Regions from separate parts of the Homo sapiens genome. Here region 2 is linked to region 1. The links are contacts of gene promoters, found by promoter capture Hi-C in human tissues and cell types (Jung and others, 2019). All regions are on one chromosome and are shown on one strand. Each heading gives the region's core, a stretch centred on a gene start or on the middle of the fragment in contact. The rest is flanking DNA. Distances are from core to core; before and after follow the strand shown. Region 1 holds the start of DTD1 (D-aminoacyl-tRNA deacylase 1). Region 2 overlaps DZANK1 (double zinc ribbon and ankyrin repeat domains 1).

Region 1 (6,516 bases), core at 3,541-6,040:
GGGCATGGTGGCGGGCGCCTGTAATCCCAGCTACTCAGGAGGCTGAGGCAGGAGAATCGCTTGAACCCAGAAGGTGGAGATTGCAGTGATCCAAGATCACACCATTGCACTCCAGCCTTCCAGCCTGGGTGACAAGAGTGACTCTCCATCTCAAAAAAAAAAAAAAAAGATGCATCTTTATGATGGAGAATCCCTGTTTTTTTTTTCATTTGTTTTTCTTTTTAAGAGGCAGGATCTCTCTATGTTGTCCAAGCTGGAGTGCAGTGACTATTCACAGGTGCAATTCCACTACTAATCAGCACAGGAGTTCTGACCTGCTCTATGTCCAACCTAGGTTGGTCCATCCCTCCTGATGGTCCTCTGGTCCTGGGAACTCACCATATTGATGCAGAACTTTGGTATGACAGCAGGTCAGCATAGTGTACTATAGCCCAGAACCCCTGGGCTCAAGCAATCCTCCCTGCCTCAGCTTCCAGAGTAGCTGGGACTATGGATGCACGCCATCATACCCAGCTAAATCTGTATTTCAAGTGGTGCTTTTGAAAATTTTCTATTTTTTGCCAATTATTTGCCAATCTTATTAGATTATGTTATTTTACTACTTCATCTTGTACTGACCTAATGTGCTAATCGGAATAGAAGGGTCACCTCAGCCATTTTCTTGCTGTTTGCTTGCTTCTGCAGGGTAATAGCTATAAATATAACTAACACAGTAACATAGACTATGTCATGTTACAATACACTGCTAAAGAAAGGGTGAGAAACTTCCCTCTTTCTTCAGTTGCAATGGCAAGAGACCACCTGCTATTCAGATCCCAGCAGAGCACATCAATCCATTCCTGAAATATCAGTAATGCTTAATTTCTTTATTTTTAGGCTAAAATTTTTTAAATCTTTTCTTCTGTGCTGCTTTTCTTATAATGAACTATGTGTGTGTGACTTATTGTCCTTTGAGCCACTGCCTCAAAAGCTGAAATAGAAATAATCTATCCTGACATAGGCAGTAAACAATTGGGGGTTGGTTTGCTCATTTGCATTGCTTCAGAAAAAGCCTTTGGCTTTATTTGTTCTTTGAATAAATCAACATTACTTTCTTACAATATTGATATACTTTCTAAATTTTTCCCAAAGTATGTTTTAAAAAATAAAGGTCATGAAGTTATATCTATCATCAAAGTAAGGATTATATATTTTAGAAAATATGAGAAACATGAAAAAAAGAACAAAGGTAAGTACTTTAATATTTTAATGATTTCCTTTTAATATTGTATCTATTCATACATTTTAATTCATATTTGTTTTCAACTACTATAATAACATTGCATATAAATTTTTATAATAATATTGCATAAGAATTTTTTCATGTCATAACCTTTTCCTAAACACCTTTTAATAGATTCAGCTCATCAAGTAGACTGATTAACCATTCCATCTTGCTGGACATATGGCTTCTTTCAAAATTTTCACCTCAGTAAATAACAGTGTAGTGAAAATCTTCGTACACTAAAGCCTTTTCTACAGTTAGGATTATCTGCTTAGATTCTAGAATCACTGTCAAAGAATTTTGACAGTTTTATAATTATCTTAACATGAAACAAATTATGGCCCAAAGTCTATATATGACACAGAGACTGCTGTCTTATTTTGGAGCAGTTTTGTCCCCCCTCCAGGGACAAGTAGAAGGACTAGGAGATTCAAAAGGATTTTTTATTATAAGTAAATGGATCACCAAGGGAAAAAATCTGAGAATCACCACTTTGAACAAAAGATCAAAGGGCTGGAAAAGACTGAGATGTTTGGTCAATTTTTCTACCTACTAGTGGCATCAGACCTGAGATCTCTACTTCAAGAATTCATAACCTTTGAAGTTAACCTAGTTAAACCCAAACATTTTAGATCCTCTTCCAACACTGTTCACAGACATCAAATTTTAGCTGCTGACAATGAATGATGGGACATGGGGGTTATTGCCCTATTCCGTCTGTTAATATGTTTGAAATGTGCCATAATAAACTTTTAAAAATTAGATTATCACAGTACCCAACCTAAGGCATCAAAATGTGTTTGATCAAGCTGGGTGCAGTGGCTCATGCCTGTAATCCCAGCACTTTGGGAAGCCGAGGCAGGCAAATCACTTGAGGCCAGGAATTTGAGACCAGCCTAGTCAACATGGCAAAACCCTGTCTCCACTAAAAATACAAAAAAATTAGCCAGGCACAGTGGCGCGCACCTGTAAGACCAGCTACTCAGGACACAGAGGCATGAGAATCGCTTGAACCCAGGAGGCAGAGGCTGCAGTGATCAGAGATGGCACCACTGTACTCCAGCCTCGGCAACAGAGCAAGACTCTCTCAAAACAAAAACAAAACCAATTAGCCAATTGGAGAAATCTGATGGACTGGGCATCAAATGATATTACAGGGTTACTATAAAAAAAAATGTGTTTGACCAATCACATAAATTGAATATACCACATAGTAAAATGTGTGACTCCTAAGCTGGACATAGCGGTGGCGGCACACGCCTGTAGTCTAACTACTCAGGATGCTGAAACTAAAGGATCACTTGAGCCCAAGCGTTTGAGGTTGTAGTAAGCTATAATAGTGCCACTGCACTCCAGCCTGGGTGACAGAGCAAGACCCCATCTCTAAAACAAACAAACCATAAATGCATAAATTTAAAATAAATGTGAAGTCAACCAACTATTTTAAAATAAAATAAAATGTGTGACTCCTGATAATCTATGCTGTCCTGACCATAAAACAGGAAGTTAACATTTTAGAACCCCTAAAATAAAATGCCATTCAAACACAGCCACATTTCAGTGAAACCAGCCACATTTTAAAGGAATCAGAAAATCCCTTTCCATTACAATGCAACTAGAAGGCCTGCATAAGTGGAGGGCCCTTCTAACAGAATTCCACAGTTCCCCAACCCAGAATTCCCGAATTATTTACACTTTCCCATAATTAACACCCTTATCTTTTTTAATATGCAGGTTTGGTTGTTTTAACTGAAAGCATATAACTTAAATAGTGAACCAAAATAACCCAAACTCTTATTCAGCACATCTCACAGAATACACATTTTCAATATTCCAGATTAGCAGGATGGAGAGTTCAGGAGAGAGATCAAAATTTAAATCTGTCAGTGACGACCACACACAGCAGCAGACTGCAAGGTTCTTCTCAATAATGCAAAACATCTTTCATCTATGAATTTTCCCAGTTTTCATGAATTTAAATATCTACAGAAATGTTATAAAAGCTTTAAAATTCCTAAATCCCAGTGCTACTCTATTCCCTATTATTCCAGGACCATTTCCAAAACCAAAGCTACCAGAACAGCTTAGAAATCATTAGGCGGGGTTGAAAAATAGACTCTTAGATTTAAATATACGGTTTTGGTGGGTTTGGTTGTTTCTTTAGGGTTTTTTGTTGTTTTTGTTTTGTTTTGTTTTTTGTTTTGGGGTTTTGTTTGTTTGTTGTTTTTTGAGACAGAGTCTCGCTCTGTCGCCCAGGCTGGAGGTTACTGGCACAATCTCGGCTCACTGCAACCTCTGCCTCCCGGGTTCAAGCGATTCTCCTACCTCAGCCTCCCGAGTAGCTGGGATTATAGGCACCAACCACCGCTCCCGGCTAATTTTTGTATTTGTAGTAGAGATAGGGTTTCTCTATGTTGGCCAGGCTGGTCTCGAACTCCTGGCCTCAGGTGATCTGCCCGCCTTGGCCTCCCAAAGAGCTGGGATTACAGGTGTGAGCCACAGCCCCCGGCCTGTTTTGTTTTTAATTCATACTTTTGTGGACACAAGAACGCATATTTGGTGCAGACTGGCTCCAAGGACAGGATATCTGAAATTATTTGAACTGAAACAATATAGTTGTGCCAATAAAGACAGAAAAGACTAAAGACAATATAAAGCTTGTCATTTAAATGTTTTTTAAAAAATATCTTTCGTACCGTGGTTTTCTTAAAACGACTACTTTATCTACACTAATCATCTGGACCTCTGATGCCCAACCGAGACGAAAGTGCTGAGTGATGACCAGGGGTCGGGTAGCTTGGTCCACAAGAAAAAGAGAAATGTTTTCATCTTGAATTCTTTAGATCCCGACCCCTCCGCGCAGAGTTCAGCGGGCGAGGGCGAGGGGCGTCCTGGGCAGGGGGCGCCCCTCATCCAGCCTAGGCTCCAGTCACGTACGTGCACGCAACTGTCAAAGCTCAGCCCAAGGAGCAACTCTCCGCATCTGTGCATTTCATCCTGAGTCAAGCCCCATAAAAATTGGAATACGTAAAAATGGGCAAAAATTGAACATTTAAAATACAGCAGTGAAAAGGGAGGAGTGCCTGCTCCGGAAATGCTCTAAGCGTGGTTCATCAACACTCCCTGAAGAGCGGACCACGGAGATGCTCCGAGGCTCCGCCATCCCGCACGCAGGACAAAGGTGCTGAGAATGAGGCGCGCTGGTCCTGCACCCTCTGCCGAGAGCCGGAAGCCAGGGGCGCGCCGGGGCCGGTCGGGCACGTGCAGGGGGCTCTCCGGCCGCCGCGCTGCCCCGAAGCCGGCCCTGGGGACTCGCGGCTGCGCGGACCGAGCTCGCGAAGGGGACCAGGCTCGCGGAGGGGCCGCAGCGGCCCCAAGGATGGCGCAGGAAGACCCCCCACGCAAGACAGCCGGTCGCGGGGGTCAGGGGCGGCTCCTCCCGGGCCCGGCCCCGCCCGACTGACCTGTGACGCTGGCCCGGGTGACGCGCTGCACCACGGCCTTCATGGCGGCGGCTGGGGCGAGTGGGGCGGCGCCGCGCTGCGTCCGGCCTCGCGACTCTGAGGGCGGCTCCGCAGCCGGCGCCCTCTGGAGGTGACACCCGGAAGCGCGCCCAACTGGCCGGTCCGACTCGGTCGGCTGCTACCCACCCCACGTCGGCCACGCCCACTCTCGGCCTGGCGATAGGCCCACCCACTCATAGATTGACTCCGCCTATGCCTGCCACGCCCACCTGCTGCCCAACCGTAACCCCGCCCGTCATTGAAAAGCCCAGTCCCCACGCTCGGCCCTGCCCCATCCACATCTGGGTCCCGCCAGAGCCCTTTGATCCCCCCATCCCGGGCCCAGCCCCTACCCAGTGCCCAGAACCCACTCTGCCCCGAAGGTAGTCTCTATGCTGGTTTTTTTCTCCCACATACCCGAACCTAAGAACCCGTCATCACTAAGCCTTTAAATTCAGCCTGAATCCTATTTCTAATTGTATTCCTCTTTCCTCTTCCACTCCTCTGCACGCAGATCCTCCCAAATTCTTCTTCCTTGTCTTCCTGCCTCAGTGGCTTTTCAGATACCACATACAAAAGGATCTGCTGCCTAAAATAGCCATTTACCTATCTCACTATTAATTCGACTTAGCCATGTCATGATAATAAATAGGTATGTGATTCTAGAATTCTAATTTCTCATGTAATATAAATGCTACTAATTGGCCCCCTCACTGGGTTGTTAGATTTAAATGAACCAAACCACGTAAAAGTGCTTAGATGGCAGCAAAGGGCTGTACAACTATTACCCCAACAAATTATTATCATTGCTAAAAATAATTCCATCTCAGCAGTCTTCACCTTAAAGGTGACTAATAGCATTGGTGGGCGTAGAAAAGGCACTGAAATTGAGAAGAAACCCTCACTTGCCCAGAAAAGACTACAAACTAGTGTGCTTGTTTGTTAAATACTGAATACTAAATTGCCTTAATAACGTTGTCAAAGTTAACATAACCAGTAACAAGACATCATGTGCCTCCTGATATTGCACTGGGAAGGACACAACATCAATCTTGTGGTATTTCTGCCAAATAATGTATAACCTGAATCCAATCATGATGAAACATAGGACAAAAATAAATTGAGGAACATTCTACAAAATAACCAGGTAGGATTCCGAGAATTAAGGAGGATTTTTTTTTTTTTTTTTTTTGAGATGCAGTTTTGCTCTTGTGGCCCAGGCTGAAGTGCAATGGTGTGATCTTGGCTATCCACAACTTCTGCCTCCTGGGTTCAAGCAATTCTTCTGCCTCAACCTCCTGAGTAGCTGGGATTACAAGCATGCGCCGCCACGCCCGGCTAATTTTGTATTTTTATTAAAGATGAGATTTCTCCATGTTGGTCAGGCTGGTCTCGAACTCCCGACCTCAGGTGATCTGCCCGCTTTGGCCTCCCAAAGTGCTGGGATTACAGGCATGAGCCACTGCGCCCAGCCGTGGACTTTTTAAAAGACAGGAAAACTACCTGTAATCCCAGCACTTTGGGAGGTCAAGGTGGGCGGATCATTGGAGGTCAGGAGTTCGAGGCCTGCCTGGCCAACATGGTGAAACCCCGTCTCTACTAAAAATACAAAAATTAGCCAGGCATGGCAGCGCATGCCTGTAATCCCAGCTACTCGGGAGGCTGAGGCAAGAAAATTGCTTGAACCCGGGAGGCGGAGGTTACGGTGAGCCGATATCGTGCCACTGCACTCCAGCCTGGGTGACAAAG
Region 2 (6,797 bases), core at 3,980-6,479, 190 kb after region 1:
CCTGGCTCCTTTCCCTTTCCTGCTCTGCTTTCTACACTTTCTTACTCTTCTGCCTTGTGAGCTCTGCTCTAATAAATCACTTGCACATGAATATTGTCTCAGAGTCTGCTTCTGGGGCACCTGACCTAAGACAATAAAATTCTGAACATCTCATGCTCAGATGTCACATTGGAAATTCTAACAGTCAGAATGAAAGGTCCCAGAACAATTTAATCCATCCAGATCGTGCACTTAAATCATACACTGTTAATATATAGCAATAGTGACATAACAGCTGCCATTTTACAGTGCACCCAGCATCAGCATTGTATTCATCATTCTTGCCTTCACAGCAAACCTGCAAGGGAGGTGTATTACCTTTGTGATCACTTTAAAAAAAATAACCACAAATTCCTTGACTGTCTTCCCCTCAAATGGTAGAATCTGTGTCCCCTCACCTTGAATCTGGGCGGGTCTGTGACTGTTTGACTAACGGACTATGATGGAAGTGATGCCATGAGACTTCCAGGGCTTGGCCACATAAGGTCATGTGGCTTTCTCTTGCTTGGCACACTCACCTCCAGCACTTCTTGGAGCTCAGCCACCCTGCTATGAGAAGCCCAAGCTACATGGAGTGGCCGCATGTAGGTGCGCCAGCTGAACCCAGTCCTCGAGTCATCTCTGCTCATGAGCCACATGAGTGACTAGACTCTAGATGATTCCCGCCCCCAGACATCCAACCACCTCTAGCCATTTGAGTCTTCCAGCTGAGGCCTCAGACATGTGGAGCAAAGACAAGCTATCTCTGCTATGCCCTCTCTGAATCCATAGCATAATAAAGTGGTGGTGGTTTAATTTCACTAAGTTTGGGGTGGTTTTTCACACCGCAGTTGATAGTCAGAAGAAGCCTTATTTGACACCCAGGAATTTTGAAGCTCAGAGAGGTTTGGTGACCTGCCCAAGACTACACTGCTGGGTCTCATGGGGTTCAAGATTTGAAGCAGATCTGTCGGACCCTGTCAGAGTCCCATGTCCTTTCTTTGATACTACATTGCCATTATAAAAAGACAGCTCTGTGAGAGGACCTTTCCTCTGTTTGTCGCAAGACTAGAAGGAACTTTATGAAATAGGCTGTGTACTCTTCTGCTGCCAAATAGGCCAACATCAAGACGATCTCATTTTCCAGTATTACCCAATTTCCTTTGATAATCTATTTTGGTAGTTTATGAATTTCTTCAGCCTAATCCAGAGATCTGCAAACTGTGGCGGTTGAGACAAATCTGGCCCGCTGCCCAATTTTATAAATAAAATTTTATTGGATCACAGCTGCACCCATTCCTTTACTTATGTGGCTGCTTTGTGCTATGACAGTAAAGTATTCACAATACAGAACATATGGTCCACAAGACCTAAAATATTTACTATCTGACCCTTCATGAAAACATTTCTTGTCCCTTGGCTTAATCTAAATTCCTATTGCTACTTACACAGAAAGCTGCTCAACTGTGATACTTGTCCCTTAATTACCAAGCCCTGTCCCCGCCCCCTACCAGGATATCTTTTCCAAGGTGATAACATCTAGTCATGTAGTTTGATTAAAGTGCATCTCTTGAAGAATGCATAGATTTGGATCTTGCCTTTTTATTCAATTTGGCAGTCTCTTTAGAGTAGTTTATTTATAATTAGTAGAGTTTAGATATGGTTGGATTTGGATCTGCCATTTTGTTCTTTGTTTTCTATTTATCTCGTCTAGTTTTTGTTGCTCTGTTTTTCTTTTCCTACTTTCTTCTGTGTTAATTAAATATTTGGTTAAATTTAGAGTTTGACATCTCAGAATTTGTACACTGTTACTTAAGGCAATGAGTCCCACACCCACAGTTATGAATTCTCTCTACAACTCTTTTAAAAGCTTATCTCTGCTACTGTCCACGAAGATGGTTGTGAAGTTAGCATCAGACTGAATTATAGTCAAGTCTCAAACAAGGTGAGTAAGCCTCCAGAAGTTATTCATTTGAGAACTGACCGATTAGTAAATTGAGACAATTTATAGAAATGCTTCTGTGTAATCCATAGAAAGGAAAAGTTTCACACATTATGAAATGCTACTAGAGGCAAGCAATTTCATAGAATTAGATAAACAAGTTAAACCTCAGACAGGCACATGAAGATATAGTGAGAACAGGAGTTGTTCTGTAGTTCTCAGGCTTATTCAGACTCACTGAAGTCTGATGGCATGTCTGTGATATAATTGATTTGGGGAAAGACTAACAAAAATATTTGCTGATATGCCCTTTGACATATTTTCTTCTATAAAATAAACCAAACTTTGTGGCCATGTGTCCTTGATCTTCCCTTTTATATGGTGACGGGGGCATTGCCACAGAGCCTGTAAATGTGTTTCAAACATTAATTGATTGACATTAGCAGCTTTAGTTTCACTGGACAAAAAGTCAGAATAATTAATCAATCAATTGAGAAGCCAAGGAAAAGGAGGGAAATTAACATTTATTAGGCCCTGGCAAGGTGCTAATGGTGTTGTTGAAATTGGGATAGAAGCATGGGCCCTGTCTAACTCATGGGGAGGCTGGGAGTATCTAACGAGCTAATGCACATGAATGTGCTTTGAAACCAAATAAAGCACTAACTGCTCTTTTTAATTGTTGTGACTAGAGCAGAGCTTGGGTCAGAGAGGAACTTCAGGGGAAGGGAAGTGAGAGAAGCAGGTCAAGGAAGGGGAAGGGACTGAATGAGCAGGTAGACAAAAGCAAAGTTGAGCTTTAGCCTGATCCAAGGGGAACTCTGGAGAATGAATTAAACCACAAAGTTGTCCCCAGTTGAGGCAAGGAGGAGAGGGAGCATGACCTCTAGGGCAAAGCAGCATCCACCTACTGAGGGCACTTTGCTGGGGAAGGAGGTCCAGCAGTAAGCTCTTAGCAGCTACACAACAGCTGGGGTGAGTAACCTGGCCAGCTAGTGGGAATGGGGCAGGCCACCAGCAGCACCTCCAATGTGCTAGCTATCTCACAAGTAGAATTGGAGTAACTGTTCCCAGGTCATTGTTTTGTTTTGGTTTGGTTTTGTTTTGCTTTGTTTTGAGACAGATTCTTGCTCTGTCAACCAGGCTGGAGTGCAGTAGCACAATCTTGGCTCACTGCAAACCTCCCCCTCCTGGGTTCCAGCAATTCTCGTTCCTCAGCTGCCTGTGTAGCTGGGATTACAGGGTCACACCACCACACCCAGCTAAGTTTTGTATTTTTAGTAGAGATGGGGTTTCACCATGTTGGCCAGGCTGGTCTCGAACTCCTGGCCTCAAGTGATCACCTGCCTCAGCCTCCCAAAGTGCTGGGATTACAGAAGTGAGCCACTGCACCTGGGCCCTAGGTTTAATAAATCTTTTGTTAGCCTGCATGTTCTAGTGTTCAGGAAGTAGCAGGCTCTTCCCTGGGACAGGAGCAGGCAGCCACGTGAGGGTGCAGGGGGATCAGTCCGGGTGCACACAGACTTCTGTGTCTGGCCTCATTATGTAGACGCCCATTTTACTGCATTTTGCTTTCACGACATGCCATTGAGGTAGGTCATATTATTTCCACTTTCCAGGTGAGGAAACTGAGGCTCAGAGAAGTTAAGCAACCTGCTTCTTCCAAGGGCACTAAGTTAGTAAGTGGCAGACCCAGGATTCACACTTGGCAGCCTGAGACCTTCCCATCATGACACCCTAATTCCAAGACATTGAAGGACTTTAAGCAGAGAAATGACACAATCACTTATAAAGGATCTAAAGGTGACTGGGACAGCCACATGCAGGGAGGCTGGCAGACCCCTGTTGAAAGGCTATTGTGATGGTCCCAATGTGAGACGAGGGGGCTGGGGCTTCAGGGAGGGAGAGGAGGAGGGGCCAGACTGAGCCGCGGGTAAGGGGCAGAACGGACAAAGCATGCTGGGGAGGTGAGGAGGAGTCAGGAAGGACATCCAGGTCTCAGGCTCCACTCTCTGGGTAGGTAGAGCTGTACTTAATAAGGAGGAGCAGGTTAGAAGGGAGATCCTTCTTTCTAGTGGGACAAAGCAGCCTCATCATTCATGGTGTTTAAATGTTTTCATTGGCCAGAACCTTTACCTGAACAAGGCAGTGAATTTCAGCGATCACCTTCTGAGCAGTGCTGCCGAGGGTGATGGGGGGCTGTGCGGCAGCAGGTCCAGCTGGGGTGAGTTATTCCCTTCTGGCAATTTTAAAACAACTGACCAGGAACACATGGACTTGGCAGGTATAGCAGAGAACTGCTAAGAGTTTGACAGCCCGGTCACAGATCTTGCAGTTATGTTCCAGACGTTTTATTTCTCTGGCTTCTCTGAAGTCAGAGGTGAGACTTTTGAAGTCCTTTACAGGGCTTGGGGAAATTCATTTGTGGGGTGCACTTTTGGACCTAAAAACCGAAGTCCCTCTTTTCCTCTCCTTCCCACCCTTCCTCTGGTTCCTGGACAGGAGAGTGGCTCCAGGAGTCTCTCCTGCCGGGTTTAATCAAATAGAAATTTCTATGATAGCCATTTTATCCTCTGACTTTTGAGGGACGTGGAAGTAAGAAATAACTGTTTGTGTGGGGAGTTGGGGGAGGGGCATCATTTTTTTCCCCAACTGTGTCATTTCAGTGAGTGACTACAGCCAGAGTACCTCAGATACTATTGAAAAAATCAAAAGGATAAAGAATTTCAAGACCAAAACTTTTCAAGAAAAGAAGGAGCAGCTTATAGTAAGTGTCTTTTTTTGGTCCTTGTGGATGTTGTCTTCAGCCTGTGATTTTCAGGTTTTATTTTGACCTTTTTTAAAATGGAAGAATAATTTCTCATTTTCTGTTCCTTTTTTATGAGGTTTCTCATGGCATCCTTGTCCTTTAGACTTCTTTAAAGTATCTCAAGATTATGAATTAGAGTTATTTCAAAGTTCCCATCAGTTTCCTGAATCATCTCTGTGTTTCCTCTGGGGTCAGTTCTGTCTGCCTATCTTTCGACTTTGGTTTGCCTCAAATATGGAACCTTGGTTGTCTGGTCGTTTGACAAATGAAGACTAGTTGGGTAGTGCAGATGCTGGCCTGGTGCCCAGCATGAGGATGGACCCTGAAGTCCCTGTGTGAGTGGACAGGCATGTCGTGGACAGACGTCCCTGGAGGGAGTGTGGGCAGGGAGCAGGAGAAAGCCTTCAGATCCCCTGTGTTGCTGGTGGAAAAGGTCTTCCTCTGGTGGTGAGGGTGTTGGTGTGTGAAGCGCTCTCACGGGTTTCAGCTTGGGATGAAGCTTTTTTCCTTTCCCTCTACACCCTCCCCTGTGTCTGTCATGGAGGTCTAGGCTCTGCCCTTCTCCTTTCTTGGGCCCCAGTGCACCAAGTAGAAGCCTTTGTTGGGCAAATCTTATGCTTTCTGCGAAATAGTTATCAGGGCAAAGTGCACAAGCCTCCTGCCCTTCTTACATGGGGAAGAAGGGGTAAGGCACTAGCGATCTCAGCTATTCACCACGGAGCCCTTAATAATCTACTCATGCATTCAGGCTACGCCCAACACCTAACCTCCATATGGATTAATTTAAGCTTCTGCAGGGCTCCCCTGGAAAGAAAACACTCCTACCTCTGGTATCTTCAGCTGGATTTTTGTTGGTTTGGTTTGGTTTGGTTTGGTTTGGTTTCCCTGTCAGATTTCATCTACTTTCAGTCTTCTTGGAATTTCTCAAAATTACTAATTCACCGATGGTCAGTACCGTTTTAGAGTTTCCCACATCTTTAGAGTTTTGTGTTTTAAAAATATATGCCAAGAATAGTTCTAAAAGGAGCTTTGGAGAAAAGGGCAGTGGATGCCACCTGCTCCATCCCCAGCCTTGCCTTTTAATTGGTCCTCCTTGGCTGCAATACAAAGAACAGATGTGATTAGCAGCAAGTCCCAAGGCCTGGGCCCGGGTCCGAGCTGGACACTTGCATGATGCCGTGTGCTTCCCTCCATGTGTGGTTCCAAGGCCAGGCCCTCAACGCCGCCTTGTCAGTGCACTAGCTGCCCAGCTTGCCTCCTGATTCCTCTGGAGGCAGGGACTCTGTTCTTTATCTTTTTTTTCTTCCCACCACATGCTTTGTATGTAACAAACACCAGTACATTTGGAAAGAATATGTTAGAATTGTTTCAACTTTTGTATTTTAGGATTTCTTGTACTCACCACCTTCTCCCAGTTTGAAATATTGTTATTGGGTATAAAAGCATAGAGTTCCATAAACTGAACAGCTTACAATTTGGGAGACTCTACCTATTTACTCTGTGTATAACCTGAATCTTCCACTGTATATGGCTTTTTTTTCTCATTTGCACTTAGGGGATAAGTATCAGAAGCTGTAACATTTGTTCACTCATTCAGTGATTATTTTTGAGCACACGTGTACCAGGCACTGTTCTACGTGTTGAAAATAAAACCTAAACAAAAGACGTAAAGGTCTCACACCTCCTGAAGCTGACATGCCTACTGCATTCTAGTACACATTTCCATGAGGAATGGAAATCAGTGTAAACAAGTGCTCCCCAAGACCCCTGCTGGGGGTTTACTGATTAGAGTACTTGGTTCTAAGCTATTCATCAGTAAGATGGGGACAGCGAGAAAGGAGGCAGCACCGCCTGGACCAGGCATCATCTTCTGAAAGGCTCAGAGGCCTTGACCAGTGTCCTCATGGCCATGGCTTCACAGGAGCAAGGACAGGGAAGGTATTATTTCCACTTTACAAATGGAAATGGTGGTCCTGTGACCACCCCACAGCCATGCCCGGGATCCAGAGGCAGAAACATACTAAAAGCAAT

What was found. Contacts are between HindIII fragments. The study calls those that stand out against the background at their distance.
Region 2: a fragment that was not itself captured here is called in contact with the fragment with the promoter of DTD1 in region 1 in 1 of the 25 tissues and cell types used here (liver).

What each region holds. Positions count from the first base shown.
Region 1 is chr20:18,586,328-18,592,843 of GRCh38, reverse strand. It overlaps DTD1 (D-aminoacyl-tRNA deacylase 1), which reads right to left and starts at 4,790. Exons shown (of 6, transcript NM_080820.6): 1 at 4,729-4,790. The coding sequence starts at 4,771. LOC124904878 (a long non-coding RNA gene) reads left to right here and starts at 5,379. Exons shown (of 3, transcript XR_007067547.1): 1 at 5,379-5,419. It also overlaps the pseudogene RN7SL638P. RefSeq lists enhancers at 4,254-4,313, 4,154-4,653 and a silencer at 4,424-4,963. The HindIII fragment of the contact is 3,504 bases long and covers 3,595-6,516 here.
Region 2 is chr20:18,391,638-18,398,434 of GRCh38, reverse strand. DZANK1 (double zinc ribbon and ankyrin repeat domains 1) reads left to right here. Exons shown (of 21, transcript NM_001367614.1): 15 at 1,889-1,963; 16 at 4,085-4,181; 17 at 4,624-4,724. The region is part of intron 1 of LOC124904877 (a long non-coding RNA gene); the gene reads right to left. Among named protein-coding and RNA genes, the nearest start is that of LINC00851, 16 kb to the right of the region's middle. The HindIII fragment of the contact is 3,303 bases long and covers 3,578-6,797 here.